Regions from separate parts of the Homo sapiens genome. Here region 1 is linked to region 2. Evidence: promoter capture Hi-C in human tissues and cell types (Jung and others, 2019). All regions are on one chromosome and are shown on one strand. Each heading gives the region's core, a stretch centred on a gene start or on the middle of the fragment in contact. The rest is flanking DNA. Distances are from core to core; before and after follow the strand shown.

Region 1 (4,257 bases), core at 945-3,444, 37 kb after region 2:
GCTGTGTCCCTACTCAGAGAGAGGCTGGGGGCTTGGGGGTGGACAGGCCAGACGGTGACCATCTGAACCTACTCCTCACTGGGGTTTTCCTCCCTCCCTTTCCTGTCCACTGCTGCTGGGAGGGATTTGCTGTCCTGGCATCTGGCCCAGCTGACGGGGCCAAGTGTATGAGTGGCAGCCTGCACGTCAGCCCTTGGGTGTGCAGTTTCAGATTCCAGAGAATGAGCTGGCTTGGAGCCCTGCTGAGTCAATGCCCTTCTCCTTGCCAGTGCTCTGAGCCAACCTGCCCCGAGTTCTTCCTGGCAGGCTGGTTTTCTGTGCCAGCCTCCCCTTCCTGACAGGGTATAGGGGAATGGGTAGGGAAGAGGCAGAGGAGATCGGTGCAAGTTTGAATGAACACTTAGCCCTGTGGAATGAATGTGGTCCAGCCCTTTAGCCTCACTCAGTACTTCCTTTGTCCCAACTCTATCCCTACCCCAGGCTCAGAATGTTGGGGTATCTCCACCTGCCTGAGAACTTCAAACATACAGGGGCTGGGCTTAGAGGGCAGCAGCACCTTCGTTCAGTGCATGAGTGAATGAATGAATGAGGGAGAGAAAGAGGAAGGTCTTCCATGTCTGAAACTTTTTTTTTTTTTTTTGACACACAGTCTCACTCTGTCACCCAGGCTGGAGTGCTGTGGTGCAATCTCAGCTCACTGCAACCTCCGTCTCCTGAGTTCAAGCGATTCTCCTGACACAGTCTCCCGAGTAGCTGTAAGCACGTGCCACCACACCCGGCTAATTTTTTATTTTTAGTAGAGACGAGGTTTCACCATGTTGGCCAGGCTGATCTCGAACCCCTGACCTCAGGTGATCCGCCCCCCCCCCCCTCCCACCACCCGGCCTCCCAAAGTGCTGGGATTACAGGCGTGAGCCACCGCGCCTGGCCACAGACTTTTATTTTATTTCTTTTTTAGAGACAGGATCTCACTCTGTTGCCCAGGCTGGAGTGCAGTGGCACCATTGTGGCTCACTGCAGCCTCTACCTCCTGGGCTCAAGTGAGCCTCCCACCTCAGGCTCCCAAGTAGCTGCGACCACAGTCATGGGCGACCGCCCTGGTTCCTCCCTTCCTTGTGTCTCCTCTTTCTGTTCTCTAAGTTCCTGCTTTATTATAGGCAAAGCTCAGGACATTAAAGACCCTGGCGGTAGAGGGTAGGCTATGGGGGTGAGGCCCTGATCCAAGTCCTGCCGCTAAGGCACTCATAATTTCGGGCTCAGGGGAGAAATGGAAGTCAAAGAATCTCATAAACACAGCTGCGATGACGAACCCTTTCACGGGAAGGAACATGCGAGCCCAGAAAAGTCTCTCCTGGTCTTGGGATGGAGGTCACACGAAGCCTCCGCAAGGCAAGGACTTTTGGTGAGTTCCGGGCTCCGCTGAACTCAGCTCTTTTTCTTTTCCTTCCTTTCTTTCCTTCTTCCTTTCTTTCCCTCCTTCCTTCCTTCCTCTTTCTCTCTTTCCTTTCTCTCTCTCTTTTCTCTCTCTCTCTCCTTCTTCCCTCCCTCCCTACCTCTCTCTCTTTTCTTTTTCCGTCCTTCCTTCCTTCTTTCCTTCTTTCTCTCTCTTTTCTTTCTTTTCTTTTCTTTTCTCTTCTTTCATTTTGAGACGTACTCTGGCTCTGTCGCCCAGGCTGGAGCGCAATGGCGCCATCTCGGCGCACTGCAACCTCCACCTCCCGGGTTCAAGCGATTCTACTGCCTCAGCCTCCCGAGTAGCTGGGACTACAGGCGCGCACTACCAAGCCCGGCTAATTTTTTTTTGTATTTTTAGTAGAGACTGGGTTTCACGATGTTGGCCGGGCTGGTCTGGAAGTCTTGACCTCAAGCGTGCGCCCTCTCCGCCACTGGGTAAGGCGGGGGCGGAATAGGGGGCTTGCAATTTCACACTAGAGGCGGGCACCGTGGGGGAAAGAAGAGTCACGTCTCCCACGGTTCGTAGAGGAAGGCCTGCCTGAGCCTGGAGCGGGGGCGGGAGAGCCACAGTTTGGCATCCCCAGGGCATCCCCCAGCCCGCAGACTACCAGGCCTCCAGAGGACAGGACCCCACCCCCGGCCACAGGCCCTGCCCCCAGCACTCCCCGCACCCCGCCTCCAAGACTCCTCCGCCCACTCCGCACCCAACTTATAAAAACCGTCCTCGGGCGCGGCGGGGAGAAGCCGAGCTGAGCGGATCCTCACACGACTGTGATCCGATTCTTTCCAGCGGCTTCTGCAACCAAGCGGGTCTTACCCCCGGTCCTCCGCGTCTCCAGTCCTCGCACCTGGAACCCCAACGTCCCCGAGAGTCCCCGAATCCCCGCTCCCAGGCTACCTAAGAGGATGAGCGGTGCTCCGACGGCCGGGGCAGCCCTGATGCTCTGCGCCGCCACCGCCGTGCTACTGAGCGCTCAGGGCGGACCCGTGCAGTCCAAGTCGCCGCGCTTTGCGTCCTGGGACGAGATGAATGTCCTGGCGCACGGACTCCTGCAGCTCGGCCAGGGGCTGCGCGAACACGCGGAGCGCACCCGCAGTCAGCTGAGCGCGCTGGAGCGGCGCCTGAGCGCGTGCGGGTCCGCCTGTCAGGGAACCGAGGGGTCCACCGACCTCCCGTTAGCCCCTGAGAGCCGGGTGGACCCTGAGGTCCTTCACAGCCTGCAGGTACGTGTCCCCAGGGCTGGTTCTCCGCGCCCCTAGTGGCTCTCCTGGCTTGGAAGGGTATGGACAGGAGTGGGGCGTGGGGGCGGGGTGCGCAACTGTGGCTCCCTGGGCTTCCCTGCGTCAAGGGATGGGCTCCCCCCTTAGGAAGCCGAGGAGGGAGGTTCGCTCAAGGCCAGGAATTCAAGACCACCTAAAGCAAAATAGCGAGACCCCCGTCTCTTCTACACACACACACACACACACACAAAATAAATAAAATAAAATAAAATAAATATAAAATTAAAAAACGACCGGGCGCAGTGGCTCACGGAGCCTCCACCTGCTGTCGAGACTAGCCTGGCCAACATGGAGAAACCTCGTCTCTACTAAAAATACAAAAAATTAGCCTGGCATGGTGTGCATGCCTGTAATCCCAGCTACTTGGGAGGCTGAGGCAGGAGAATCTCTTGAACCCGGGAGGCAGAGGTTGCAGTGAGCCGAGATCGCAGCACTGCACTCCAGCCTGGGCAACAGAGTGAGACTCCTCAAAAAAATAATAGCGATAAAATAAAAATAAAGCCAGGTGCGGTGACTCACGCTTGTAGTCCCAGCACTTTGGGAGGGCGAGGCCAGTGGATCACCTGAGGTCAGGAGTTCAAGACCAGCCTGACCAACACAGTGAAACCCCGTCTCTACTAAAAATACAAAAATTAGCTGGGTGTGGTGGTGGGCGCCTGTAATCCCAGCTACTGGGGAGGCTGAGGCAGGAGAACCTCTTGAACCCGGGAGGCGGAGGTTGCAGTGAGCCGGGATCATGCCATTGCACTCCAGCCTGGGCGACAGAGCTCGACTCCATCTCAAAATAATAATAATAATAAATAAAATAAAATACAAATACAAAAATTAGCCAGGTGTGGTGGCAGCTACTTGGGAGGCTGAGACACAAGAATCACTTGAGTCTGGGAGGCAGAGGTTGCAGTGAGCCAAGATTGCGCCACTGCACTCCAACCTGGGTGACAGAGCGAGACTCTGTCTGAAAAAATAAAAAATAAGCCAGGCATAGAGCTGCATGACTGTAGTCCCAGCTACACAGGAGGCTGAAAACAGGAGGATCGCCTGACCCCAGGAGTTGGAGGCTGCAGTGAGCTGTGACAGCACCACTGCACTCCAGCCTGGGCGAGAGAACGAGACCCCGTCATTGGGAAAAAAAAGAAAAAAGAAAGACTCCCTTGCCTGGCCTCAGCGGATGGAGATTTGGAAGGATGGATGAGTGGATGAATTAAGAGGTTGGGGTAGGCAAGCTGGGTCCTCACCAAGGTTTTCACCCCTCCCCAGACACAACTCAAGGCTCAGAACAGCAGGATCCAGCAACTCTTCCACAAGGTGGCCCAGCAGCAGCGGCACCTGGAGAAGCAGCACCTGCGAATTCAGCATCTGCAAAGCCAGGTAACCCTAGGATCAAGGGAGAAAAGGTCCCTCTGATAGCTGGACCCCAGGTTGAGAGGGAGGTGGTGAGAACTGGACGTGTGGCTGGGGACGTGGGGCCAGGCAGGACCTGACACCCTCCTCCCGTCCCATCCTAGTTTGGCCTCCTGGACC
Region 2 (4,324 bases), core at 1,417-3,916:
GCCAAGCCATGGGCACCCCCCAAGATGCCAGCCCCATTGTGGGGTCTTACATTGTCCAGGATGGCAGGGTCACAGCCTGGCTGGGTGAGCAGCAGCCGCACGGTGTCCAGGCGCCCATACTCACTGGCACACATCAGCGCTGTGGCCCCATCCGCATCCTGCGCATTCACATCAGCCCCACACGCCAGTAGGGTTGCCACCATGTCCTGTCGGCCATGGCTGATGGCCAGCATGAGGGCTGTCTGCCCCGTCTGGGGAGTGGGGAGGAAGAGGGAACAGGCTGGGGTAGGCTCAGGGAAGGGAGGTCACAGGTTGACTCCCAAAGTGGAAGTGACTCCTGGCTGAGAGCCACAGTGGGGGCGCCCACGCACCTGACTGGCCTTGGCATTGACATCACCCATGCAGAAGAGTCTCTGGACCACAGCCATGTCCTCCTCTTCCTGCCTCACAGAGGTGAGTGCAGCCAGCATGAGGGCCGAGTAGCCGGCTCGGTTCTGGCGGTTGACCTCGCAGGCCCCTGGGAGAGAAAAGGGGGCCGTCCACGGAGATGCCAACACCGCGGCCCGACTTGATCCACTCACCTCCCTGCAAGCCTCGGGCACAGCACCTGCATATGGGGTGGTCTCAACGTTCTCCCCACAATAGCTACCTGGTTCCTCCCTCACTAAGGTGTTGCTCAAATACCATCTGCTCAGTGAAGGACCTTCCTGTTTCATCTTTTTTTTTTTTTTTTTTTTTTTTTTGAGACATAGTCTCGCTCTGTCACCCAGGCTGGAGTGCAGTGGTGCGATCTCAGCTCACTGCAATCTCCACCTCCGGAGTAGCTGGAACTACAGCATGTGCCATCACACCCAGCTAATTTTTGTATTATTTAGTAGAGACAGGGTTTCACCATGTTGGCCAGGCTAGTCTCGAACTCCTGACCTCAAGTGATCCACCCACCGTAGCCTCCCAAAGTGCTGGAATTAGAGGCATGAGCCACTGGCCCAGTGGCTATTTCAAATCAAGTCCCTGTTTCAAATCAGGCAGGGACTTGGTTTTGTTTGCTTCTGTATCCCTCAGTACTTAGAACAATACTTGGCACATAGTAGATGCTCAGTTAAACATTTGTTGACTGAATAATAAAAGGATATGTTTATTTTCATGGCCACCACCCGCCAAGCCACCATCATTGCTCCCCTAAAGAACAGTGCCAGCCTCCACCCTTCTCTCTGAATCCACTCCAGGTTCCACACAGCAGCCAGGAGCAACTATTTATTTATTTAGAGATGGAGTCTCATTCTGTCGCCCAGGCTGGAGTGCAGTGGCACGATCTCAGCTCACTGCAACCTCTGCCTCCCAGGTTTAAGCGATTCTTCTGCCTTGGCCACTTGAGTAGCTGGGATTACAGGCATGCACCACCACGCCCAGCTAATTTTTGTATTTTTAGTAGAGACGGTTTCACCATGTTGGTCAGGCTGGTCTCGAACTCCGACCTCATGATTCGCTTGCCTCAGCTTCCCAAAGTGCTGGGATTACAGGTGTGAGCCACCGCGCCTGGCCAAGAGCAACAATTCAAAATGAATTTGGTTGCCAGGACACTGGCTCACGTCTGTAATCCCAGCACTTTGAGAGGCCGAGGTGGTTGATCACTTGAGGTCAGGAGTTCGAGACCAGCCTGGCCAATGTGGTGAACCCCATCTCTACTAAAAACACAAAAAATAGCCAGGCGTGGTGGCAGGCACCTGTAATCTCAGCTACTCAGGAGGCTGAGGCAGGATAATCACTTGAACCTGGGAGCTGCAGTGAGCCAAGATCACGCCACTGCACTCCAGCCTGGGTAACACAGTGAGACCCTGTCTCAAACAAACAAACAAAAACACCTGCCAACACCTTGATTTCAGACTTCTGGCCACCTGTTGTAAAAAAAAAAAAAAAAAAAAAAAAAGCCAGGTGCAGTGGCTCACGCCTTTAATCCCAGCACTTTGGGAGGCTGAGGCGGGCGGATCATGAGGTCAGGAGATTGAGATCATCCTGGCTAACTCAGTGAAACCCCGTCTCTACTAAAAATACAAAAAAAAAAAAAAAATTAGTCGGGTGTGGTGGTGGGTGCCTGTAGTCCCAGCTACTCAGGAGGCTGAGGCAGAAGAATGGCATGAACCCGGGGGACGGAGCTTGCAGTGAGCCGAGATTGCGCCACTGCACTCCAGCCTGGGTGACACAGCTAGACTCCATCTCTCAGAAAAAAAAAAAAAAACCTGCCAACACCTTGATTTCAGAAGTCTGGCCACCTGTTGTTTGAAGCAGCTCACAGTGATACTTTGATGGCAGCCCTAGGAAGCAAAACAGCCTGGTCAACACTGCCTATCCTGAATGAAACACAAACGTGAGCTCAGTTTCCTCTGGGATCAGTTCTGTTACCATCCTGGTCCCTGTTCCTCACAGTGCCTGTTTGGATGATATTTCCTGGAGTGGCTGTTTTAATCCCTGTCTCCTGCCATTCTGAAGGCTCTGAGGATTGAGGTAGTTTAAGGAAATGAATGAGAAGCTTGGGGAAAGGAGCGGGGTCGGGGTCATGAGATGGATAACCTAGTGAGGAAGGAGAGCTGAGATGAGGGACTGAGGAGTAAAGGGTTAAGTCAAATGACAGCAAAAATGGAGGCCAGGCATGGTGACTAACGCCTGTACACCCAAATGCTTAGGGAGGCCAAGGCAGGAGGATCACTTGAGGCCAGGAGTCTGAGGCCAGCCTGAGCAACATAGGAAGACCCCCCCATCTCTTAAAAAATTTGGCCGGACACGGTGGCTCACGTCTGTAATCCCAGCACTTTGGGAGGCCAAGGCAGGCAGATCACAAGGTCAAGAGATCAAGACCATCCTGGCCAACATGGTGAAACACCGTCTCTACCAAAAATACAAAAAATTAGCCAGGCGTGGTGGTGTGCGCCTGTAGTCCCAGCTACTTGAGAGGCTGAGGCAGGAGAATCACTTGAACATGGGAGACAGAGGTTGCAGTGAGCCAATATCACACCACTGCACTCCAGCCTGGTGACAGAGCGACACTCTGCTCCCCGCCAAAAAAAAAATTAGCTGAGTGTGGTGGTTCATGCCTGTGGTCCCAAATACTCAGGAGGCTGAGGTGGAAGGATCGCTTGAGCCTGGGAGGTTGAGGCTGCATCACGCCACTACACCCCAGCCTGGAACAAAGCTGTCTGTAAAAAGGGGTTGGGGGGACGTTCCCTGTTTGGGTGGCATGCTGTGTGGGTGTCCATGCCTTCCACTAAGACACCGTGTAAGGCGTCAGGTGGTCAGGGAGGAGCACCCAGAAATAACCAGAGTGGGGTCCTTGCAGGCTAGCCAAGGACCCACCTATCTTCCTGCTCCCTCTCCCTTTTCTCTTGCAGCTACCTTGACCTTGCTTAACTAAAGAATCACCCTGGCTAGGCACAGTGGCTTACGCCTATAATTCCAGAACACTGGAGGCCAAGGCAGGAGGATCACTTGAGCTCTGGAGTTCGAGAACAGCCTGGACAACAGAGCGAGACCTCATCTCTACTAAAAATACAAAAATTAGCCGGGTGTGGTGGAGAACGCCTGTAATCCCCGCTACTTGGGAGACTGAGGAGGGAGGATCAATTAGGCCCAGGAGTTGGAGATCAGCCTGAGCAACATGGTGAAACCCCATGCCTACAAAAAAATTTAAAAAGAATCACCCTTTGTTGACTTCATCCCCTGGTTGTCTTCTGCTACGGCCCTTACTAGCATTTGAAATTATTTCACGTTTTTACTTGATAATCGTCTCTCTCCACTCTTCACTCACCACCCCCACCACACACACACACACACACACACACACACACACACACACACACACACTCAAAACTACACATTCCTGAAAGTTCTGTGGGAGCAGGCATTTATTCAACACTTGACGGTTTGCTGTGGGTTTGTCAGGCAGGCAGGTAGGGTCGGGTGAGAGAGGGGTATGGAGAAGAATCCACAACAGGCTGAAGGAGGATGACAGAGGCAAAGAGACAAGGGGTGGGGGCAGTGAAACGGAGAGGGAGCAGTGGGTAATTGTCCCCGCAAGGTCCAAGGATTACTGGAGTTGGGGAATGGGAGCCTGTGAGCCGAGAAGCTGGGAGGTGAGGGTCGGGAAGTGGGGAGCTGAGAAGTGAGATTCTGTAACGGGCACAACTATTAGGGACATCAAGGTCTGGGGCTGATGTTATACCTGTAAAGCTGATGTGGGGCAGAGTCAAGGTCAAGGAAGGAGAGCAGCCAGGAGGTTGCAGGGATCATGGGGGAGGATGTTGAAATTGACAAGTGGGCCGAGCGCGGTGGC

What was found. Contacts are between HindIII fragments. The study calls those that stand out against the background at their distance.
Region 1: the fragment with the promoter of ANGPTL4 here is called in contact with a fragment that was not itself captured in region 2 in 4 of the 25 tissues and cell types used here (bladder, liver, pancreas and 1 more).

The regions. Positions count from the first base shown.
Region 1 is chr19:8,361,961-8,366,217 of GRCh38, forward strand. ANGPTL4 (angiopoietin like 4) reads left to right here and starts at 2,195. Exons shown (of 7, transcript NM_139314.3): 1 at 2,195-2,679; 2 at 3,994-4,104; 3 at 4,242-4,257. The coding sequence starts at 2,362. RefSeq lists an enhancer at 1,812-1,861. The HindIII fragment of the contact is 14,542 bases long and covers 1-4,257 here.
Region 2 is chr19:8,324,580-8,328,903 of GRCh38, forward strand. It overlaps KANK3 (KN motif and ankyrin repeat domains 3), which reads right to left. Exons shown (of 11, transcript NM_198471.3): 8 at 372-517; 9 at 51-251. Among named protein-coding and RNA genes, the nearest start is that of RPS28, 5.2 kb to the left of the region's middle. The HindIII fragment of the contact is 8,731 bases long and covers 1-4,324 here.